5 separate regions of the Homo sapiens genome follow, and regions 2, 3, 4 and 5 are each linked to region 1. Evidence: promoter capture Hi-C in 16 types of primary human blood cells and fetal thymus (Javierre and others, 2016). All regions are on one chromosome and are shown on one strand. The core of a region is centred on a gene start or on the middle of the fragment in contact, and the rest is flanking DNA. Distances in the headings are between cores, read along the strand shown.

Region 1 (4,757 bases), core at 109-2,608:
TCTGCAAGTGGTGAGCGACTAAACCTGCGTTTTGGTTATAAAACTCCAAAGGCCATCTGAAATACTGAGACCTAAAACTTACAATCGAGATGGATAGGGAATTACTTTTTCCTTTACTTCCTTTACTAAATCCCTTTGTCTCCAAATCTATCAAGCAATAGTTTCTTTATCTGCAAACTGTGGATTATGTTACCTGTCTTGTCTGCTTTAGAAGGGAAACAAAAATTATGTAGAAATTAATAGGAATACTATTGAAACAGGAAAGGGACAACTTGCAAGGTTTGAAGCAATCACATGTTGAGTACTCAGTCAAGGCTTTCTTTTTTTTTTTAAATCAAAATGTTGATTGGGATATTTTATGGGTAGCAGGCTTGGATCCCAGCACTTTTCCAATAGGGGAACAGAAGCACCTTGTACCGCCCCAGAGTTTCCCTTCCCCCACACAATAACCCTAAAGCAAAAGCTATTATTATTATCATCGCCATGTGACAGAGGAAAACTTGAGATTGGGGGCTTAACTGACATTACATCAAGTCTCAAAAAGAAACAGTGGCAGTTTGAGACTTTGATCTACGACTCTTTTAAGAGTTTAGATTGCGTCCACAGCGAAACCTGCACAAACAGTTGTCAACAGCGGCTGCAAATTACAGGCTTATGAGGAACGTTTGAAAAATGCCAAGAGTTCTTTCCTCAGGCCAAATACTATGGTAGATAAAAGTATAGCCTTTGGAGCCAGAATCCCTGAGTTTGAATCTTGCCTGTGCCACTTGGTAGCTGTGTGACTCTGGCTGCGTACTTAACGGCTCTGTCTCAGTTTTTCTGTTGGTAAAATGAGGATAATAACACCTTCTTTGTAGGGTTGTTCTAAGGATTAAATGAGTTAATAGGAGTGAGCCACTTAGAATAGGGCCTGTTATATGGTAATCTCTATTTAAAATCCTGTCAGATACACCAAAGAAAACACTTTAAAAATATCTGTTAAATAAATCAGTAAAACAGAATCGGGGCATTGGTTCTTTAAAAGTACTCCCCCACGGTATTCTAGTATGCAGCTTGGGTTTTAATATCTGAATGTGGCGCCTTTTGGGATCTCGCCTCGCGAGAAATTGACATTAACGAATGAGTGAAAGGAGCTTCCCCCCCCCCCCCCCTCCAGGAAGATATAGACCCTGCAAACTTGTTAGCAGGACCTTGCGGACACCAAGGAGGCGGAGGCGTTTTCCCCATTTCCCCTTCGGGAGTTGTAGTTTCCTGCAAGCGCTTGGTGGGTCTGTAAACCAGCGGGGAACTACAACTCCCACAATCTCGCGCGCCTCCCGCCCTGCCTCCCGCCCGCGTTTCTAGCCCGACTCCCATTACCGCCCCTCGGGGGCGGCTGTGGCGGAGGAACGATGGCCGACGGCGGCGGCCCTAAGGACGCGCCAAGCCTGCGGAGCTCTCCCGGGCCGGCGCCGCGGGTCCCGCGCGCGGTCGGGCCGAGTGGCGGTGGCGGGGAGACCCCGCGGACCGCGGCGCTGGCGCTGCGCTTCGACAAGCCCATTAAGCAGGCCTTCTACAACACCGGGGCCGTGCTGTTCGTGTGCCTGTGCTGCGGCGCCGCGGTGCTGGTCTACTTCATCCTGGAGGCCTTCCTGCGGCCGCTGCTCTGGGCCGTGCTATGCGGCACTTTTCTGCACCCCTTCAAGAGCTCGCTGACGCGCCTGGGCCGCCACTGGCTGCAGCGCCTGCACCGCGCGCACACGCCCATCGTCCTGGCCGCGCTGCTCCTGCCGCTCTGCTTCGTCGACTACGGCGTCGAGGCCCTGGGCGAGCAGGCGCTGCGCCGCCGCCGCCTGCTCCTGCTGCTCGGCGCCGGCGGCCCGCTCCTGTACGGCCTCTACTGCCTCGGCAGCTACTTGGGCGTGCAGGTGCTGCTGGTGCACGCTGCCACGCTCATCTGCCGCGGGCTGGACTACTTCAGCAGCCTGTGGGTGAGTGAGCGGCAGTCCGCCCCCGTCCCCCGCCCGTGGTCCCGGCGCTCTGGGGTGCAATCCTGCAGCTGTTCCTCCCGGTGCAGGGGCGACGAGGGGCCACACCTGTGCTGCAGTGACCGTCCGTCTCCGCTTTCCTTCTCACACCTCAGGAATTTGGCGGACATTCTTCCAAAAAGGGGGCGGGCGTGATTTGAAACAGCCTCCCTGCTTTTCGCCTTGTTTCAATCCTAATAGGCCCTCTTAGGGGGACAGTGCCCTGGATTGAGAATCGTTATTTCGCTTTGCAGAGAGAGGCCTCAGAGCATGGCAGTGGGGCTTGGTTTTACTTCTGGTTGGAGAGGGCGGGGGTGCTTCGGCCACCCTCAGTTCTGCGCATCTGAATGTCAGAGCTGGAAGGGACCTTAGAGATTCTAGGCCAACTTGCCATCCTGCAGATAGGAAAGGTGACCTCTTACCAGGCTAGGGCTACTTAGGGACAAAGAGGGGTTTGGGTGTCTTAGATTTCTTACAAGTCCTAAAACAAAGCTTGCTTCACTGGCTGGTGCTGCCTCTCAGTTCAGGTGATTCCTGTATAATTTGTGCAAGGCACTGGGTGCTGAGCTGCCTGTGCTTCTTCCTCTCCACGCTTTACTTTTAGGTAACTGCTTTTGTTGTGCAGGGACTGGTGTACCACAGCACACCTCCTCCCGCCTGGAGTAAAGCAGCTGACCGCGTGAAGGGGAGAGACGTAGATTTGTGATGCTTGGATTAACCTGAGCTTACTCTTACAAAACCAGGGAGCTTTAGAATTGGAAAGATTTCAAAGGTAATCTAGTGACACAATTCCTAACTCAGACTATATTGTGGACTAGTTAATTATCCACATATTTAACTGGAGACTGTTAAAAACAAGTGGAGATTTAGTGCGTAAGAATGCCAATTGATTCATAAACAGTACCATTTACAAATTGATTCACTTCTTTTGTCAGTGAAATAAAGTTCAGTGTACCTTGACGTCATTAAGTTGGAAAATATTAATTCCCCTTATCTGTCTAGCGGTGTTTTGGCTTGCCTGAGGTTATTGGCAGAGTGATGAATGACCCAAAACACCCTTCTTCTCTTGTTCCCTCAATACCACCTCTTGGTTCATGTTTAAAGTTGATCGAGCATATGTTAGGTGTTGGGCTTTGTGAGAGGTTTAAAAAAGGACTAAGATACAGGTCCCGTCTTCACGGTACATATAATCCTATATGAACATATTCTAATGGAGATGACAGACATACAGATAAATGTTCATGACTCATCCGTTGTGGGCCACAGGCCCAGAGAATGTGATTGGTCCAAAGTCACACAGCTCATGAGCAAATCTGTGGTTCACTTTTATGGAGGCCCAGTTCAGCGCTCTTTATCCTTTATCTTGCAGTTTCACAATTCAGTTAAGTGGATCGAATGCTTCTTAGCTAGAAGGCAGAACACTATGTTCTAAGAAAAATAAGCTTGGTTATTTTCCTGAAGAAATTCAGTTTTGTCAAAGACACATTTATAGATTCTGCTAACATTTTTGACTGTTGATACTGCTCAAGGAGCATATCCATCAAACTATAGGAAAGTAGAAAAGAAAGGCCTGCCACATGTAAATAGTATATTTTCATGCTAGAGTAAGAAGTTGAATACCTAAGTAATTTGGCATGATTATGAGGCATTTCTACCAGTCTCTCTCAGATACTCAGTGGAAAGAGTTGAGCACTTGTAAAGAAACATCCACAGCTCGGCGTATACCTTTGAGTATCTTTTTACTGAAGATAAACCCTCATCTTTGTATTTCATTTGTGGGTTGTGGATGAGTGGAAGAGAAGTAGGGGCCAACACTGATTAGACCTGGGAGTGGGAGAAAGAAGGTCAAACTAATTAATGATTTTTTAAAAGCTTGAAATTGGCCGGGCGCGGTGGCTCACGCCTGTAATCCCAGCACTTTGGGAGGTCGAGGCGGGTGGATCACCTGAGGTTAGGAGTTCAAGACCAGCCTGGCCAACATGGTGAAACCCCGTCTCTACCAAAAATACAAAAAAAAAAAAATTAGCTGGGTGTGGTGGTGGGCACCTGTAATCCCAACTATTTGGGAGGCTGAGGCAGAAGAATCACTTGAACCCGGGAGGCAGAGGTTGGAGTGAGCCAAGATTGCACCACTGCACTCCATTCTGGGTGACAAGCGTGAAATTCCGTCTCAAAAAAAAACCAAAAAAACCTTGAAATTCAGCTGTTTGGCTCAAGTGTTGGGAGCAAGGAAAAAGAGAGAGGGTTAAAAAAAAACAAACTCAACATAAAAGTATGAGTTAAGTATTTGTGAGTAGGGAGTGGTAGAAGGGCTAAATTTGAAAGAACCTTCAGGTCAATCTGAGTTTAAGAAAAACAAGGCATGGAATTGCATTCTGCTCAAGCAGCACTTAAGGATGGATGGTTGGATGGGGGTGAGGTGTACTTGAGAAGACAAGGAGTCCTTGCTCTTATCCAAAAGTGCTGATTAAGGCCAGGTGGGGTTGCCCACGCCTGTAGTCCCAGCACTTTGGGAGGCCCACACAGGTGAATCACTTGAGGCCAGGAGTTCGAGATCAGCCTGGCCAACATGGTAAAACCCCGTCTCTACTAAAAATACAAAAAATTAGCCAGGCATGGTGGCGCACACCTGTGGTCCCAGCTACTCGGGAGGCTGAGGCAATCTCTTGAACCCAAGAGTTGGAGGTTGCAGTGAGTTGAGATTGTGCCAGTACACTCCAGCCTAGGTGACAGAGCAATACCCTGTCTCAA
Region 2 (4,757 bases), core at 1,642-4,141, 5.8 Mb before region 1:
TGTATTAGGAAATGCATTTCTGTTCTTTTTCCCAGATCTCTTTCGGTTACCCTGCCTTGAGTCTATTTTAATACTCTAAACCAAGGGTCAGCAAGCTTTCTCTGTAAAGGTCTAAATAGCAAATATTTTAGACTTCGGCAGCTGTGAGGTCTCTGTTGAAACCACTCAGATTTGCTGTTGTAGTGGAATTGAAGCCATAGATGTATACACAAAGGGATATAATTACATTTCAATACAACTTCAATTACAAAAATAGGTGCCTGCCAGATTTGGCCTATGGTTCAGTTTGCTAGCCCTGTTCCAAATCTTCCTCCCACTGCCCCTGTCCTCACTGGGCCCTCTCAATGAAGTGTCACTGTGGCTCGACTCCAACATCCAATCTCTTCAAGTTAGCCCCAGCAAGACAAAGAGCTCTAAAGTTAAAGGGACAGGACCCTCCCTCCTCAAAAGGCCATTTAGTTACATGTGTTATTGCTTGAATATACCCTGGGTGAGTCTGTCCTTGTCTCACATATACCCATAGTTTAAAAATATATATTCCTACCATGTACAGTGATCATCAAAAGATAATCTTAAATGGATAAAATTATTAAGTTACTTTTAATGGCAAAAACCGCAATCACTTTTGCACCAATCTAATGATTTTTAAATGGAGTAAAATGTCTCCATTCTATTCCAAATATATCTGCATTCCAGAAAGGTTCTGAAGGTATTTCTAGAGCCTGCAGCCGTAGTCAAGGTTAGAAAGAGGGCTCAATAAAGGGAGCAGAAAAACTAGTCTGTAAACCAACATGACCCAGCTACATGGCCCCAGACAATAACTTTTATTATGCCTCAGTTTCCCTACCTACACAATGGAGGTGGTAGTTTACCTGTCCAAAGGCTAAATTTTGGACCAGATGATCTCTTGGAGATTGTTTCCCTAAATCAGTGTTTTTCAAATGGTCTCAGGCATCTGCATTCCCTGGGGTGCTTTGTTAAAACAGACTACCAGACCCCAGCCTGAGTTTCTGAATTAGAGTAGGTCTAGAGGGTCTTAAAGTGGCACCAAGTTCCCAGGTGCTACTGCTGCCACTGCTGGTGTGGGCTTACACCTGAAGGCCTCTAGTCTCTACAACAGAGATCTCCCAGTCCCTTATACAGGAAAGCAATGTTGGAGGAATGGCTACTGCTGGCTTCCCTTTACTTTTCAAAATGGCTTTCCTTCTTGAAGGGATGAGACGTTAGTTCTATTTGCCCACTGAGTCTCAGGCACTGCAGCCACATCTCAGCAGCCAATTCCAGGCTGAAAGGAGGCTGGGTGGTCACTCTCATGAGGCCATTCTCTGGAGAAAGATAGAGACACGGAGTACAGTTGAGAAGAGAGAGGCAAGAATGCCACCACACAATTCCTTTACATAAGCCACTCTTCTAGAACTTTCTCTTTCCATAAACATGAAGCATAGATTGAAGGTCAACCCTGCATATATGACCAGCAGCAAGAAACGCAAGGTGGGATGCAAGGACTTAGAAGACTAGGAAAGTGCAGACCGCCCTCAGGGACTCTCATCTTATGAGCAAGGCAACATTTACATGTGTTTACACACTTGGGTTCCACATCAAGAGAAGTAGATAATTAGACAATTAGGTTATGTGGCATGAAAATAGAGGCATTCCAGAGAGGGTGTTGGTGGACTTGAGAGATCTGGGCAAGCATTCCTGGAGATGGTGAGGCGGGTTGGCAAAGGCTGGAAGGGAGAGGAAGAACAGGAGCAGTGGAAAGCCAAGTAAAACACGAGAGGAAGCCTGGATGCACCTGGAATATTAGCAGAGCCGACATGAGAATGAGCAGAGAGGGCCGGGCAAGCAGAGGGGGTTGGGTGCGGTAGCTCATGCCTGTAATCCCAGCACTTTGGGAGGCCGAGACAGGCAGATTACGAGGTCAGGAGTTCAAGACCAGCCTGGCCAACATGGTGAAACCCTATCTCTACAAAAGATTAAAAAAAAAAAAAAATAGCCAGGCCTAGGGGTGTGTGCCTGTAATCCCAGCAACTCAGGAGGCTGAGGCAGGAGAATCACTTGAACCTAGGAGGCAGAGGTTGCAGTGAGCCGAGATTGCGCCATTACACTCCAACCTGGGTGACAGGGCGAGACTCAGTCAAAAAAAAAAAAAAAAAAAAAAAAGGAGAGAGAATGAGCAGAAGGGACTCTTACACCTGTCTCTCTCCCTGATGGTATGTACTTCCTTTAGTTGTTCCCATTTCTGTGTCCCAGTTTCCTCCTTTTGTGGAATGAAGGATTCAAGCCAAATTTTCTGAAGTTTCTAAATTTTATTCACCTTGGAGAGACCCCATGCCAGAAAAGGGCAAATGAGCAGGTGAAGCTTAGCCCTTCTCTTTGTCCCACCTGTGCTTCAGCCAAAGCAGCCCTGTTTTCTTATGTTTTTATATTCCTTATACAGCTTTGCTTCCAGAAAGGATTTAAAACTTACTCAACAAGAAATTCTATAAAGGCTCCTTCCATCTGCACATCGTACAGCTTGAGTAGAAGACAGAAAGAAGCCAGTTAGCACAGGTCATGGATTTCTATGTTGGCCAGGCTAGATTCTAGAACAGCTGGAAAGCAGAGAGGGGCTTAGAGCAATGGGGGTGGGAAATAGGGAGCCACTGAAGGTTTGTGAGTAGAGGAGTGTCACAGCAAAAGAATGAATTGAGCCCACAAACTACTGTACTAGGAACTGATCCGAAAATCTCAACTGCTCAGAAAGTTGAGTAAAAACAAAGGGTGATTTTTCCCCCTTGTCAGCCTTCCCTCCCAGGACATTGTATTGTATGCAAAACGGGTAACTGTAAGACAAACATTTTTTTCCACTGCCCTTCTCAGCCCCACAGGCCTTCAGGAAGACCCGAACTTCAAGCAAAGCCTTTTTATTTTTCAACACCCACAGCTTCCATTCAACAATCAGAAGTTTTCCACTTTGATCAAAGAGGCTGAACAAGAGGGCCAAGGGAGCAGCTGGTTCTCAGCAACTCTGGGCAGACCACAGAGCCCTTGCTACCCACTCACTGTCCGTGCCCACCAGAGGACACAGCCTTCTCCCCAAATCAGCCAGGTACATGCCCCAGAAAACACTGGCTTGCCTCGTTCCCACCTTAATTACCGGACCAAACGAACGTGAACACACTGTTTTCAAAACCAAACTCAATTGGGATCACGGGGGCCTCGGTTTCCTTGATTGTAAAATGGGTATATCGCCCCCCACTCTATTTAGCCCAAGAAAACAATTTATCTCTTGATGTCTCTTTCGTCTCCAGGATCTATGCTTTTACAGACTCACTGGGAGGAAATATCCAGACCAAATCCTAAAGCCTGATCTAATTTGGGAGATGCTCAGAAGTTTTGGTTCTATGCAAGAACAGCAGTGGTAATAATCCAAGCTTGGCTTTAGACACAGGACGTTTCCTTAGGGGCATCTGGGATCTCTGCTGGCTCAAAGTGATGCGCTGCAGACAAAAAGTGAGCAGAAAGGAAAGGAGGTGCTATGCAGAATGAGCTTCTTCCACGGTGATACCAAATGGAGCTTTCAAAGGCCCACATCTGGAGGCAGCAGCTATGCAGTGATTAACATTTTAAACGGTATTTTGAAATGGAGATCATTAGTAACCACAGATGTGATCTGACTCTGTCCCCCAGGTAATCTGTCTATTGTATCTAAATTCCAGACTTAGCCCAGTAGACAGCTTGGGATGTTTAACAGGAATTGTCCAACACCATCCCCAAATCTATTTTTATTCATGGAGTACTCTGACATCATCTCGCTTGGTCTTCCTGATGACTGTAATGCAGATTGGGAACAGAGAAAGCCATAAAGACTTGTATGATGGCCCAAGGCTAAGAAGGGAAAGGGCTGAGACCACACTTCAGGTTTTAGCTTTCAGGTGCAGTGAAGATTGAATGACTTAGCACGAGCTTTCAGCCAGGCAGGCTGCAAAGTGCACCCAAGTTCTTTCAGTGATCGACACTTGCGACTTAGGTTGAGATAGTTTTCATCCTCCCTGAGCCTCAGTTTTCCCATCTGTAAAAAATAAACATTGCCTGCCTCGGAGGGTGGAGGTGGAAGTGGAATGAAGCCACATGTAACTCCTAGCGCTGTGCCTGAGACAGTAGAGGTTCAATTATAGTAGTCACATACACACACAACACATACATACACAAGACACAACACACCACACACAACACATACATACACACCACACACAACACTTACATACGCACCACACTCGGCATGCATTGCAGATCACAAATGCACACCACACACACACTGCATACATATACCATAGAGAACACACAACACCTACACATACCCCCATACCACAAATACACACACACTACATAGTACACCACGCAGAACACACACAGCCCCCATATTCCACACCACACCATCTCACTGCCAATTCCTTCCCCTCTTCATGAGTTTTACGGCAGGTCCAGGTTCATCTGCCAGTTTAACAGATCCCAAAACTTCTGCAGGAGTGTTTGTTCAAAAGATTGATATTTCCAGATTCCTGCTTTCTGACAGTATCTTTGAACCCCAAATTTCATACTGCCATGAGCCAGTCCCCCTTTGGAGAAATATCTCCATTTGTGTGCCCTTTTTCCCCCAGGGAACCTGCAGCATGTCCCTTTTTCAGCAGTAGCCTATCAAACCGAACCCTTTGGAGTTATTACACTGCAGTCCGAGGGATCCGGCCTCCCTGAGACCCAGCAAGGACTCATTA
Region 3 (4,757 bases), core at 794-3,293, 5.5 Mb before region 1:
ATCAGAAACTAAAGCAGTAACAAAAACAAATGGTGCCCCACCGCAGCTTCCTTGGCCTTGAATTCTTTCTCCCTCTGCAGGCGGTACTGTTCAATTTCAGCCTGAGCTTCTTCTTTGGCCTGCTTCAGCCTCCGGTTCTTTCCTGTTTTCAAAGGAGAGAGCTATATCAGGAAGTGGTTAAAAGTAGAAAAGCAAGCAGAGACAAGATGGTATATTATAACAATAAGCCAAGAATAAATTATGACACAGTCCGAAGAGATGTGCATGGGAAAGAGGGAATTCAGAGCTAACAAACAGTACAGGTTCCTCCCTCCTATAGGCTGTACTTAACTAGGAAGTGACAAGACAAAAATGAATACCTTCTGTAACTACAGCCCATTAAAAAGATGGAAAAAAATTGTAGAATGTGTCAGAATATTCTCTCAATCTCAACTATTAAGAACCAACATAAAATGAGTAACATTAACCATCTAGGGAACTCTTCTCCAGAAGTAAACACCTTAAGTATGCTGCTGATTAAAGGTGCAACCCTACTCAGATGCTTAGCAAGAAGGCTAATAAGCTCGCAAGGGACAGCAACATATAATGTAACTAATGAACCAACTATATAATGTAACACTGGAAACTAAAAGCAGTCCCTGTCACAAGGAAGTAAGGACAGTGGTGACTGAGAAGGAATGCTGAATGAGGAGTACTGGACAGTAAGACTGCACAAGTGGCTGAGAGAAGAGGAGACACAGGTATTTTGGTTTCTAGAAGTGAGTGGCTTAACATACAGCTGGAAAAAATCTCTAGGTTTGGTCAGAGTCTACATGAAAACAGACCACAAGGACAGCCAACATATAATCTCTGCTTTGAGTCTCCGCTCACCAATAAAAAAAAAAAAAGAGAGGTTCTAGACCATCAACCTATTTATTTGAGAGCAAAAGACATCCTGCATCTAAAATTAAGCTTTGTTATACAACACTGTACATCATTGTATACCAACTGTCTAGAGTCCACGCGAATGAGTGAAAATGAACTTAACCTTCCACATCCTGATTCAGAACAGAACTTTGGACCTGTAATGAAATGACCCCATGACATCAACATTCCCTGATGCTAGTCTGAAACAATTAACAGGTCTCTCTCTCAAAACTCCAAGAACTATTTCTGCAAGTCCACATTCACTCCAGTATTATTTCTGGCCTACTACTGTCTGCTTCGGCCACCTGTACCCCAATCCTTCACATGCTATCTTCCCATCAGCTATAATGGGCTGTATTTCAAAGCTAAAGATACTTTCGAAACCAACAATCTATAAATAACACTCATGGCCTGAACATTATGCAGTAGCTCCGCATGATTTCACAAGACATCACCTCCCAACTCCCATGGCTCCCTGCATTTATAACTCAGGATAATACCATTTACTGCCTTTGGCAAACATCTTCAACATTCAATTTTGACAGGGGCCTCTAAAAATCAAAAATATTTAAACAGAAAATCGTATTTCTCTTAAATCTTGTTCTTCTTGGGCCTTACATATGGGAGCCAGTGTTTTGTTTCACTCCAATGAAATATGCCATTAACACAAACTTTTTTAAAATTTTAAGGTCCACGCCGGGCGCGCTGGCTCACGCCTGTAATCCCAGCACTTTGAGAGGCCAAGGTGAGCAGATCACAAGGTCAGGAGTTCGAGACCAACCTGGCCACTATGGTGAAACCCTGTCTCTACTAAAAACACAAAAACTAGCCGGGCATGGTGGCAGGCACCTGTAGTCCCAGCTACTCGGGCGGCTGAGGCAGAAGAATCGCTTGAACCTGGGAGGCAGAGATTGTAGTGAGCCGAGATCACGCCACTGCCCTCCTGCCTGGGGGCGACAGAGCGAGAATCCATCTCAAAAAAATAAATAAACAAAATATATAAAATAAAATAAAAAATAATAAAAAAAATTTAAGGTCCAACTCAATGATTTCATTAAAAAAACTGGATGGGATCATTTTATATACTGCCTCTTCCCAACTCTTAACTGGGCAAATCAACCATAATTATAAATCAAGAAAGGCAAATTTTCAAACTGCAGTTCTTCTGACTACCTCTCTGTTCCTAACTATTAACAATTCTGAGACAGGCAAGGCGCAGTCGCTCATATCTGTAATCCCAGCACTTTGGGAGGCCGAGAGTTTGAGAAGAACCCGGCCGACATAGTAAAACACTGTCTCTACTAAAAATACAAAAATTTATTTTTTTATTTATGTATTAATTTATATGTTTTTGTATTTTTAGTAGAGATGGGCATGGTGGTAGGCACCTGTAATCCCAGCTACTTGGGAGCCTGAGGCACAAAATCTCGAACTCTGGAGGTGGAGGATGCAGTGAGCCAAGATGGTGCCACTGCACTCTAGCCTGAGTGACAGAGTGAGACTCTGTCTCAAAAAAAAAAAAAAAAATCTGAGAAGTATGTAAGCCATAAACTAATACTTTGGTTTGTTTTTTGTTTTTTTTTTTTTTTGAGACGGCGTCTCCCTCTGTCCCCAAGGCTGGAGTGCTGTGGGACAGATCTCCGCTCACTGCAACCTCTGCCTCCTGGGTTCAAGCGTTTCTCCTGTCTCAGCCTCCCAAGTAGCTGGGACTACACGCGCACACCACCACGCCCAGCTAACTTTTGTATTTTTAGTAGACACGGAGTTTCTCCATATTGCCCAGGCTGGTCTCAAACTCTTGATCTCAGGTGATCCACCCACCTCAGCCTCCCAAAGTGCTGGGATTACAGGCGTGAGCCACCACGCCCAGCCAAATTAATACTTTTTAAAACCAATTCACAGCTACCTGACATATACAAAACCCTGCACCAGGCTTGACAGGATAAAGGTATAAAACATAAATCCTACCTGGCTAGGGCACTCAGAATTATTCTTACCTATTCCAAGCATTTTTTCCTGCACTTCCCCAATCTATTCTCCTATCCCTCCCGACAGATACAACTTCTGTTACTGATGAGCCATCAGAACACAAACTGTGAGAAGTCATTCTGGAAATACACTATCAAGGGCATGACTGGAAATATTCTGGGAAGAACAAAGAACTTTCCAGTCACCGGAGCAAGAACAAAAGGCTTCTTCTCATTCCCAACACCCTCAAAGAAAGCTTTCCAAGTACCACACAACCCCTAACTGCACAAGTAGAGGAGACATGCTTGAAATCTAGTTGGATGTCAGATAGAATAACTCCTATACTAGGAGAAACACCAAGGAATTACTAAGATCAGTATCTTCGCCTTGCATGGAAAAAGAGGCTTCTGAGTCCCAACTATGTTGCTTCCCAGGGTATGGATAAATCATTTCTCTCTGAGCCTCATTTTTACTATCTGTAAAATAGGGATAGAAGCATCTTTCTCACCAGACGGGAAACTGGATACATAAAGTTAAATGAGACATAGTTTCTGTTCTCCAGAAGCTTAGTCTAGTGACTGAGCCATATAAACAAACAGGTTATTGCACGGCAGTGGCAGAAATCAGCACTTGGGAGGGACTCCAAGCCTAGTCCGGGGGACAAGCATGAGTCAGGAAAGGCTTCCCGGGAAGAAGTGTTTCCTAAATTGAGGTCTGATGGAAGACTAAGGGTCAGAGAACAAAGGGGAGGAGAATTGGAAAAGGCTTCTCACGTCAGAAGAAACAGCGTGTGCAAAAACCTGCAGGTGAAAGACATCATGCTGCTTCTGAGGGACCACAACGATTCAGTATAGCTGGAGGAAAGCACCAGGCCTGACCCACAAGAGCCTCCCCAACTTCATTAAGGAATTTGAGCTTTCTTCTGCAGGAACTAAACGTCTGACTACAAAGGCGGTAGGGAAATCATATCTGCACTTATTTATTTATTTTGTTCCTTACCAGCAGGAAGTCACATATTTGCATTTTAGAAGGATGACTGATTGCAGAGAGGAGAATGGATTGACTGGAGGGGACCAGAACGGGTTCTTCCACTCCCCAGTCTAGATTAAACTCACCTGTTAAATTCTTTAGCAACCTTACATTTCTCCACTCCAGCCCTCATCTCTCCTGCAATTAATTAACTGACCCAATACCTGCTTCCTTCACTGCGACACTGAATGCCACGTTAGGGGAGACAACTGATGCACTGGGCACTGCGCTTGCCACATATTAGACAGAAACACACACACACACACACACACACACACACTGCGCTTGCCACATGTTAGAAACACACACACACTGCGCTTGCCACATATCAGAAACACACACACGCACACACGCCAACGATTTAGACAACTACAGTACCTTTAGAGAAACTGGTGTCCTGGACTAAGACGCTGGTAGTAGACATGGGGGAAAAAGTGAAAGATACGCAAGCCTTGGCGACTGACTAAATGAGGGAGGGAGAAGAGGCAAGCAGGACTCCAGGTTTCTAGACCAAGCAACTGTGTGGATGCTGGCTCCCTTCACCGAGACTGACCACCCCAGAGCGGTTAAGTGGGAGAGAAGAAGAACAAAGAGCTCCGTTTGGAGAGCCCATTTCACATGCCTCCAGGCCCCAAGGACGGTAACCCATTATTGTTTCCACGCCCAATTTACCATCTCACATCGTGGCTTCCAGGCGATCCGCAAGCCTTCCAGAGCCTCAGCTCCTCAAAGCTTCGAAACACACAACCTTCCGCGACTATACGCACGCCCGCACCCCGCAGTTTTTCGGGCCTAATCTACCCACCACCTGAGGCCCAGCGGTCTTTCTTCGACTCGCGCCACGCCGGGCAGCC
Region 4 (4,757 bases), core at 1,523-4,022, 5.2 Mb before region 1:
TACAATATCTTAAGGGACCCTCATGCTCCTGCAGTTGAAGGTATTGCAGGGGGCTGGGGTGGCCATGCTGGAATGGATGGGGGTCAGGAGAGTTAACTCTGGCAGGAAATCTAGGTTTAAATCTCAACTCTGCTCCTTGTTTCTGTTGACTTTGGGCAAATCATTTGAGCGTGAGTTACCTGTCTATAAAATGGTTTGTAATAATCGTAGGTACTGGTGGGATTGTTGTGACATGGTATCTGTATGGTGCCTGGCACACAGCAGGTGCTCAATTCATGGCAGCCAGTATCGAAGACCACACAGCCCAGTCTCCATAGTTTACACATACATAAAAGGGTGGTGGGCTTAGTGAGTCTAATGTGCTTCTTACCCCGCAGCCCACAGCTCGAGCCTGGCAGGAGGTAAGTGCTTAAAAGTGGTGTTTAACTATCTGCTGAATCTCTGTCTGTCCATCTTTCTGACCCCAGCCTGCTACCACCACTGCCGCCGCCAGCACTGGCCCCTGCCCATTGCACGTAAATGTGGAGGTGAGCTCTGGCAACAGTGAGGTGGAGGACAGGCCACAGGACCCCCTGGCCCGACTCAGGCACAAGGAGCTGCAGATGGAGCAAGTTTACCATGGCCTCATGGAGCGGTGAGTGCCACCTGGACCTGACCAGGGTGTCTGGCCAGCAGCTGGATCTTGGCTGTCCCCCACTGGGCAGAGGTCATGCCCCTCTGTGTGTTCTTCTGCAGGTACCTCAGTGTGAAGTCTCTCCCAGAAGCCATGAGAATGGAGGAGGAGGAAGAAGGAGAGGAGGAGGAGGAGGAAGAGGGGGGAGGTGACTCCCTGGAAGTTGATGGGGTGGCTGCAACTCCAGGGAAAGCAGAGGCCACCAGGGTCCTCCCAAGGCAGTGCCCGGTGCAGGCTGAGAAAAGTCATGGGGCTCCCCTGGAGTAAGTCACTGAGCCTTTCCTGCAGAATGTTTGTTTCCACCCTAAAACCACAGGGATGATCACTGTCAGAGTGAATAAGACAGCGCTTCACAGTTTAGACATGGCTTACCTGTCCTGCCTCTTCAAGTGTGGAATGTATACCACTGATAGCCCTTGAAATGATTTTGGGTAGTGTGGGACATGATTTTCAGTAGGACACATGCAGTATTAAAGAACATTATTCTCAGCTGGGCACAGTGGCTCATGCCTGTAATCCCAGCATTGAGGGAGGCCAAGGCAGGTGGATCACTTGAGTCCAGGAGTTCAAGACTAGCCTGAGCAAAACGGCAAAGCCCCATCTCAACAAGAAATACAAAAATTAGCCAGGCATGGTGGTACACGCCTATAGCCCTAGCTATTTGGGAGGCTGAAGCAGGTGAATCTCTTGAGCCCAGGAGGCGGAGGTTGCAGTGAGCTGAGATCGGGCCACTGCACTCCAGCCTGGGTGATAGTGTGAGACCCTGTCTCAAAAAAAAAAAAAGAAAAAAGAATATCATTCTCTTTTTCTGTCTCTGACCTTCTAATGATGCCAAGGAGAAAGTCTCAGTTAGTGCTGTGGTGTCTTTTTTATTTTTCTTTTTTTGTACTTTAAGTTTTAGGGTACACGTGCACAACGTGCAGGTTTGTTACATATGTATACATGTGCCATGTTGGTGTGCTGCACCCATTAACTCGTCATTTAACATTAGGTATATCTCCTAATGCTATCCCTCCCCCCACCCCACAACAGCCCCCGGTGTGTGATGTTCCCCTTCCTGTGTCCATTTGTTTTCATTGTTCAATTGCCACCTATGAGTAAGAACATGCGGTGTTTGGTTTTTTGTCCTTGTGATAGTTTACTGAGAGCTGTGGTGTCTTTAATGCCTCTCTTGAACTTCTGTGGAAAAAGAGAGAGAGAGACAGTATGAGAGCACACAAGGCCTAGAGCATTTAGCAGGCAAGTGGATCTATCTAGTATATGATAATATTCAGGTTTCTTATATTTATCCTCAAAGTTAGTTTCTGTTTGTCACATGACACACTGATCTTCTGTTTTGAATAGTGATCTAAAATCTTTGGAGTAGATGGAAGTTTATGGAAATGACTGAAATAGGGAAGGTGGTATGCAAACTCCTTAAGTCTGGGAAATGCTGCTTTAACATTTCCTCTTTGGTGTTGGGTGGGTTTTGTTGGCATCCATATTTTATAGTTGAGAAAAGTGAGGTTGAGAGAGGGGAAGTGCCTTGCCCTAGGTCACACAGCTAGAAGGTGGCAGAACCAGGCTGGGCAGCCAGGGATGTCTGACTCCAGAGCTTGTGCCCTGGGCTGCTTGGCTCCCAGGACAGGCCAACCCCTGCGTCAGGGCTGCCTGGCAGAACTCAAGGATGGTCTTCTCTTCCCATGCCAGGGAGGCCACGGAGAAGATGGTATCTATGAAGCCACCAGGTTTCCAGGCATCCCTGGCTAGAGACGGGCACATGTCAGGCCTGGGCAAGGCTGAGGCAGCCCCTCCAGGCCCTGGCGTGCCACCCCACCCTCCAGGCACCAAGTCCGCAGCATCCCACCAAAGTAGTATGACCAGCCTGGAGGGAAGCGGCATCTCTGAGCGCCTTCCACAGAAGCCTTTGCACCGAGGCGGTGGGCCCCACCTGGAGGTAAGTCTCCACATGGGGGAATGGGCCCAGAACCTCAGGGTCATTCCTGGGTCTTCTCAACTTTCTGCTTCTGGGTCTTTCCTTGTGCTATTCCTTCTTGGAATACTTGCTGCTCCTGTCCCTGCCAGCCACAATCCCACCTGACATGCAGGACTTATGCTCAGTGTCACCCCCCAAACCTGTCCCTCTTCCGGAGCTCTTGTTCCTCCTCTGAGAGCTTGCAACCCATTGCTTATACTTCTCTGAGCCTGCCCATCACAGCTGGAGAGACTAGTTCTATGCTCTTTAGAGTAGACATCACTGCTGCAAAGTCACAGGCCACTATGGAAATGTGACTGTCATAGAATAATGCATATATATGCATGCATGTGCACTTATGCACAAACACACACACACACACACACACTTCTGTAGTCCTAACGAGCCCATGGTCAGGATTCTCTGCACTAGACATGAACTCAGCGAGGGCAGGCACCTGTGTTGCTCTGTTTGTGTTCTCTGTGCCGTGTGTTAAACCCAGCGGGTAGGACCTGTACATATTTGATGGTCTCGTTTTTCCAATGCCTTGGGCCTGAGCATTTCCACTGTCAGATAAGACCATAGTATTCCAGGCCTAAGCCAGGAGACACTGGAAATAAGGCTTTCTCCCTCTCCCCTTGCTAGTCCTTGTCCATGGCCTTGTCTCTCCCAAGGGCTCTGGCTGCCACCCCTCAGGGAGGCAGCACTTGCTGAGGGTCCTCCTGGGGTGCAGAGTCCCTGCTGGTAGCCAGATTCTTGTGCTGAGGCCTGAGAGCCTGAGAGCCCTCACTCCTGGGCCTGGCTGTTGGGAGCTGGGCCAGCAACCCTGGGGTGTGAGCCTCTGGGAGGTGAGGCCAGGCCACGATTTGGGAAGGGCTTCCCAGTGTGCCTTGGACACATTCCTCAGACATAAAGGGATACTGCCTCTTTCAGGAGACCTGGATGGCGTCCCCAGAGACAGACAGTGGCTTTGTGGGCTCAGAAACAAGCAGAGTTTCACCCCTCACCCAGACTCCAGAGCACCGGCTCTCCCACATCAGGTATCCCGGGATCCCGCCATTGTCCCGTCAGTGCCACATTCCTGGGACAGCCTGGGAATCACAGTGCCTGTGATGGCCCAGAATAAGAGAGGATGGTCTGTCCATTCGTAGGCCCTCATTTCATCCCCTAACCGTGATTTCTTGTTCCTGTGTTATGGACAGAGGAAACAGAGCTTCAGAGAGGGGAGTAACTAGTCCAGCCTCACATAGCTAATTAGCGACAGACTGGGAAATTCATTTTTGTTGAGCAAATGAATGGATGAATGAATAAAAACTACAGGGAGGGCACTGTGAGGTGAACAGAAGACAAGGGCAAAGGGCACTCAGGGTGGCTACATGGAACCCAAAGGGAAGGGAGAAGGCGGAGGGGACAGGGGTGAAGAGTGGAGGGATGGAGCCTCCAAAGCTGGGTGCAGGCCCTTCAGGAGGCCCACATGGCAACCCAAGGGTGCATGCAAAGGAAGGATTAGAAATCCTATTTCTCTTTTATGTATTCTACACATAAACTGAGCTTTATTATTTTGCATATTGGGTTGGCCAGTGAACAGTTTACAAAGAATTGGGCATCTAATGTGTGTGTGTCCTTGGAAATATTGTACCACCCGAGATGCAAAGTTACAAAGGGTGGGAGCTTATTGGGTTAGCATGTGGAGGGGCTCAGATGCTGCCGCCTGAGTGTCTCACTCTGTGTGACCCCTGTGTGTCCCTTCCTCCACGGTCCCCCAGCACAGCAGGAACATTAGCCCAGCCCTTTGCTGCATCTGTGCCCAGGGATGGAGCTTCCTACCCCAAGGCCAGGGGTTCTCTGATTCCCAGAAGAGCCACAGAGCCCAGCACACCCCGGAGCCAAGCACAGAGGTACCTCTCCAGCCCAAGTGGGCCTCTCCGGCAGAGGGCACCCAACTTCAGCCTGGAGCGGACACTGGCAGCCGAGATGGGTGAGTGCAGGAGTCTGACTTGGACAGAACTGCATGGGTTGAAAAATCAAATAGAAAAACTTGCAGAACCCTTTAGGATATGACATATTAGCCAGGTTCATTGTACTGAAATTTGAAATTACAGATAACGTGGACAAAAGGGAACAAAAGAA
Region 5 (4,757 bases), core at 1,533-4,032, 5.0 Mb after region 1:
CCTTAAAAGGTTGCAGTGAGGTGTAATTTACAAAAAGTATAAAAACACAAATGAAGAGAATATCGGGACGTCTCCAAAGTTCAGTGAGGATTCTCCTGCCAACTTAAATTCAAATAAATCAGAAAGTTTACACTTTACCTGAGACAGGTTGGAGATGCCCAGCAAAAAGCAGATGGAGTCCAATATGTTGGATTTCCCACTACCATTTAAGCCAGTGATAGCATTGAAGAGGGGGTCAAAACCATTGACTTCGGTCCTCTGAGCATAGGACTTGAATCCCTCTAGAATAATTGACTTAATATGCATTTTCGATACTGTCTTGGGTCAGCAAACCTCTGACAGGAATCAAACAGGCCACAAACCAGTTCTGTACGAAACAGAAATACCACCACCTAAGTGGAATGTAAACCTGGAATCATAATGAACACGAGGCAAAAACAGCAACGATAGGGTGATAGAAATAAAACAGCCACTTGACAAACTATCTTGTCTGATGTAAAGACATCGTTCATCTACTCAAAAATATACCAGAGTTAGCCACTATCTGGAAATTAAACCATTCAACTGGGAAGTCTTAACTATTTCTTCTACCCGTTTTTCCAGGCTTGCCTTCTACTTTTATCATACTCTACCTAAACAAAGACTATGGATTATTACATATCCCATTATCTTTGCCTATAATGTGCTTTTCTCTGATACTGACATAGCTTACTCTCTACTGCACTCACGTCTTTGCTCAAATGTCACCTTACTGGAGTCCTCCCTGACCTCCCTATGTCACCTCTCCACAATCCTTCACTCGGCTTTCTTTTTCCTTCATGGTACTTAAAGCTGATATTAGACGGTCATTACTTGTCTGTAAGTTCCCGCAGTGTCTTCACCTACGTCCGTCATTGCATCCCCGAATTGTGCTTGACTCCGGGAGGAGGGGAAGTCATTTAAGTATTTACTAGAGATGAGATGTATCTCATATTCTCCAACTTCTTGCTTTTACTCAGGCTTTTACCTCGCTTCTCCAGGCCTGTCTACACCTCTTCGCCCTACTCCAAGGTCGAACAGAAGCTAGCCTTTATTTCTAAGGATCACCTAAGGTCCCTCTGCCACTGGTCCCCCTCCCTACAGCCCCCGCGCCCCGCGCCCCGCCTCCCGCCTCCCGCCTCCCGCCAGGAAGTCTGGCCCGGCCCAACCGGCCGTGCTCACGCACACGCCTCACCGCTGCCTCAGGCCAGGGGCTTGACGCACCCCAAAAGCTCCTCCGGGTCACAAAGGCAGGGAACAGAACAACTCTCTAGCCGGGGCCGCTACAAAGCGAACTTCACCATAGCGGCTACAACACCTGCCACACCGCTCTCAACACCCGCGCCGGAACTATTTATTCCTTTGAATTTCGGCGCGAGCAAAGGACCCCACCTCCATTGCTTATTTCCTGTGCTGGTGCCTAGGAGCTGCCTGTCTTTAGGGTTCAATTTTTCCCCTACACTCGAAGGATTAAAGCCGCAGGGCAATAGAATGAGAGTCTCGATAATGGTAGCTCCGGGGACTCCCCGGCAGGGGCCTGGGCACTACAGGAGCAGATAGTGTATGTTCACACCGGCGTCCGGCACTCTATGGTCAGCCCCACACCTCGGCCCCGGGTCCTCGCGCTTCGCCAGCCCCGCCCCGCCTCGGTCCCTCTAGTTCGCGTTAGGCACACTGCAGACTCCGCCTTCTCCAGTCTGCGGTGCTGGCTGTGGCTTACTTTTCTCTCCTCAAAGCGACAGTTAGGAAGTGGAGAGGCATTCTATGAGTGTTCTCGTCGGTTCTGTTTTGGAAGCTTCAGAATCTTCTCGGGTTGGCTCAGATTGCTGCAAAATAAAAGCTGTACTTCTTGGGGCCAGAGAGGCACCGTCCTTCGGGGGACTCTGGCCCGCGTCCTGGCTCCGCCCCGTACTGGCCTCGGACCTCGGGGAGCGTTTTTATCTGAAGTTTCCACGTCGGAAAGGGATCGTAGTCTACCGAGAGCTGTTCCGAGCCCAGAGGAGAAATTGTGTGGTGCTAAATAGCTATTCATCTCCCTTATACCGGAAAGCGTTGTAATGATAAGCCGACCTAACCTGTTGGGGATTTTTTCTGGAAACCTTTTAAGACAGTTCATGTTATTGAGTTCTGAATATTAGGCTATATTGCAAGGGGCTTTTTAAAATCCACGTAGCAACCCTATGAAATCAGAAATTGCCCTCGTTTTACAAATGAGTTAAATGAGACCAAGTAAAAGGTTAAACAGCTTGTCTAGTAAGCTGGGATTTGTTCCCAGGCGGTCTAGCTCCAGATTGCATGCTTTTAAATACTAGGCTTCATGCATAGAATCTAGTATTATTAGCCGATCCTATTATTAGTATGTATTGTTCTTTAGGAAGAAAAAACGTGTCAGGATTGCTCACGTTTCCAAGCACGTTGATACTTAAGAGTTAGGAAGGGCTTAACTCCGAATGGGTATGGTGTTACCCTAAGTGAGGTTCAAAAAGATGGTGTGGGCAACAATGCTATTTTGGAATGGCTTGATCCTTTTGGGCTTCCATAACAAAATATCCTAGACTGGGTAGTTTATGAACCACAGAAGTTTATTCTTCACATTTCTGAAGGCTGGAATGTCACAGAATAAGGTGTGTCTAGGGAGGGGTGCTTTCTCTTTAGTGGATAGCACCTTCTGGCTCTGTCCTCGCATGGTGGAGAGGCAGAGGCCCTCGCTTGGGCCTATTTTATAAGGACCTTAATCCCATTCCTCACTTCCCAAGATGCCACTTGCTAAAACCGTCAGTTCGGGAGTTAGGATTTCAAAATGTGCATTTTGAGGGACACATTTAGACCATAGCGTAGGTCATGTTTTTAAAGTTGCTTTCTTGGCCCTGGAATGGCAATGCAGTCATCTGAATTGGTCTTAACCTACCAGGAATGGGCTTATATTTTGAAAATATTTCTCGATAAGGGAGTAAAATAAGTTGTATGGGTTTTTTGTTTAAGAAAGGATTCCTTTGTTTACTCTGGTATGCTTATCCACTTCTGTGATGTCAACCATGGGTAGTGACCTAACATTAATTTAATTCAACAGATATCTTTGTCTGCCTTGATTCCTGCATCCCCTGGGCTCCACAGCTATTCACTTGTATTGATTCTGTTAACTCTTACACATTAACTTTGAGCTGTGTCTCCTTCCTTTTATCATTTTGTGAGTAAAGAATTTTAATTTGCCAACAAATCCTAATGTGGACTTTGTCACGTTGTGAAATAAAGTGATTTTTTGGTATGGAAATATGTGTTAAGACAGACTGTTAGTCTTTGCACTTTAACAACTAGCTGATACACTTACGTCACATGGATGAAAACATACACAAGTGCACTGTTGTTGGATAAGGACTCCTGGGTGGTTAGAAGAATGTGCAGATCTAACTACTCCCATTAAGACCATTGATTAAAATGAAAAATGCTTATAAAGGTGGAGATCTCTCAGTTTTAGTCTTATTGCGTGCCAGAAGCACTAAGGAATTGCTGCTAAATATAAGACAAATGGACTTGAGGAAATCACTGATGACTAACTTGAAACTCTGCCTCCTGAGATCACACAGGTGAGTGGAAAAAACCAAGGCACAAAGCCAGTGAAGCCCCCTAATTTGGAGATGTGAGGGGTAGAAACAGAGAGTATAGGGTAGATGCAGTGTACAGAAAACACTGTTCTTGCTTCATCACCATGGATTAAAATCGTTTGAAAGCTTCAACGCTAGCGGGCAGTGTTTCAAGCAGAAATCTGGCAGCTAGTGGAGTCTGAGTCCTTATATGGAAGGCATCATCAGTACCAGCAAGGACACACATACAGCCACAAAGCAAGACCTAGGAGAAATATTTGGTGCTCTACTCTCCTAGGGAACTGGAAGGAACCTGCTCTCTCCTGGGTATACTTTTCTAATTTTAGAGTGCTAAAGAAGCTCTTCTCACAGGGACCCGAGTGAATCCTTTCTCCTTGGAACAAAGGACAAGAAAAAAAGAAAGGACTTTACCGCAGAAGTAAGGAAGACTCATTTTGTTGAGAGATTATTTTTAGGTTCAAGGAAATGAATTGATAATGACAGGAAGTTTATATTTTTACATTGGATTGACTAGCAGCACTTTTATTTTTTCAGAGAAGGAGTCTCACTCTGTCTCAGGCTGGAGGGCAGTGGCCTGGCAGCACTTTTTGAATACACTCGTGCACCACATAATATTTCAATGTCTGATTACATTATGTGACTGTGGTCCCTTAAGATTATAATGGATAATTCCTGTTGCTTAGTGATGTTGTAACATCGTAGTGCAACATACTACCCTTTCTGTTTAGAAACACAAACACAACATTGTGTTATAGTTACCTACATTATTCAGTACAGTAATATGCTATAAAAGTTTGTAGTCTAGAATCATAAGGCTATAATATGTAGGTTTGTGTTAAGTATACTTCATGATGTTTGCACAACAATGAAATTGCCTAATGAGGCGTTTCTCAGAACGTATCTCGTCGTTAGGCAACGCATGACTGTATTTTATTTCTAACGCCATATTATTTGAACTGTGGGTTCACCGAATATAACCTGTTTGACAAACTTGCAAAGAAACACAGCTAAGTATAATTTAAAATGAGGAATAGAAAAGGAGGTTATTATATTCATTCACCCAGTGGGACTGGTTAGACCCATTCATTTTAATGTCAGTGACAATATTGTTTTCTAAAATACATGTTCTGTTTGGTT

Evidence for each region. The method cuts DNA at HindIII sites, captures the fragments that hold promoters and counts their contacts. A CHiCAGO score of 5 or more calls a contact.
Region 2: a fragment that was not itself captured here is called in contact with the fragment with the promoter of TMEM245 in region 1 in 1 of 17 cell types (non-activated CD4 T cells); the score reaches 5.6 in non-activated CD4 T cells.
Region 3: a fragment that was not itself captured here is called in contact with the fragment with the promoter of TMEM245 in region 1 in 2 of 17 cell types (naive CD8 T cells and non-activated CD4 T cells); the score reaches 8.0 in naive CD8 T cells.
Region 4: a fragment that was not itself captured here is called in contact with the fragment with the promoter of TMEM245 in region 1 in 1 of 17 cell types (activated CD4 T cells); the score reaches 5.4 in activated CD4 T cells.
Region 5: a fragment that was not itself captured here is called in contact with the fragment with the promoter of TMEM245 in region 1 in 2 of 17 cell types (fetal thymus and activated CD4 T cells); the score reaches 8.8 in fetal thymus.

What each region holds. Positions count from the first base shown.
Region 1 is chr9:109,116,548-109,121,304 of GRCh38, reverse strand. TMEM245 (transmembrane protein 245) reads left to right here and starts at 1,358. Exons shown (of 18, transcript NM_032012.4): 1 at 1,358-1,970. The coding sequence starts at 1,392. RefSeq lists silencers at 1,209-1,258, 1,399-1,568, 1,919-2,028 and an enhancer at 1,679-1,728. The HindIII fragment of the contact is 5,277 bases long and covers 1-2,500 here.
Region 2 is chr9:114,930,761-114,935,517 of GRCh38, reverse strand. No RefSeq gene overlaps it. Among named protein-coding and RNA genes, the nearest start is that of TNFSF8, 2.5 kb to the right of the region's middle. The HindIII fragment of the contact is 1,054 bases long and covers 2,365-3,418 here.
Region 3 is chr9:114,587,937-114,592,693 of GRCh38, reverse strand. ATP6V1G1 (ATPase H+ transporting V1 subunit G1) reads right to left here. Exons shown (of 3, transcript NM_004888.4): 2 at 42-142. Among named protein-coding and RNA genes, the nearest start is that of ATP6V1G1, 2.5 kb to the right of the region's middle. RefSeq lists an enhancer at 4,490-4,757. The HindIII fragment of the contact is 2,179 bases long and covers 954-3,132 here.
Region 4 is chr9:114,355,773-114,360,529 of GRCh38, reverse strand. AKNA (AT-hook transcription factor) reads left to right here. Exons shown (of 22, transcript NM_001317950.2): 10 at 468-634; 11 at 736-936; 12 at 2,363-2,609; 13 at 3,561-3,667; 14 at 4,394-4,605. Among named protein-coding and RNA genes, the nearest start is that of ORM2, 28 kb to the right of the region's middle. The HindIII fragment of the contact is 7,176 bases long and covers 1-4,757 here.
Region 5 is chr9:104,090,934-104,095,690 of GRCh38, reverse strand. It overlaps SMC2-DT (SMC2 divergent transcript), which reads left to right and starts at 3,217. Exons shown (of 3, transcript NR_121580.1): 1 at 3,217-3,602. It overlaps SMC2 (structural maintenance of chromosomes 2), which reads right to left and starts at 1,382. Exons shown (of 25, transcript NM_006444.3): 1 at 1,214-1,382; 2 at 139-367. The coding sequence starts at 306. RefSeq lists enhancers at 762-1,429, 1,648-1,967, 1,430-2,099. The HindIII fragment of the contact is 1,933 bases long and covers 1,816-3,748 here.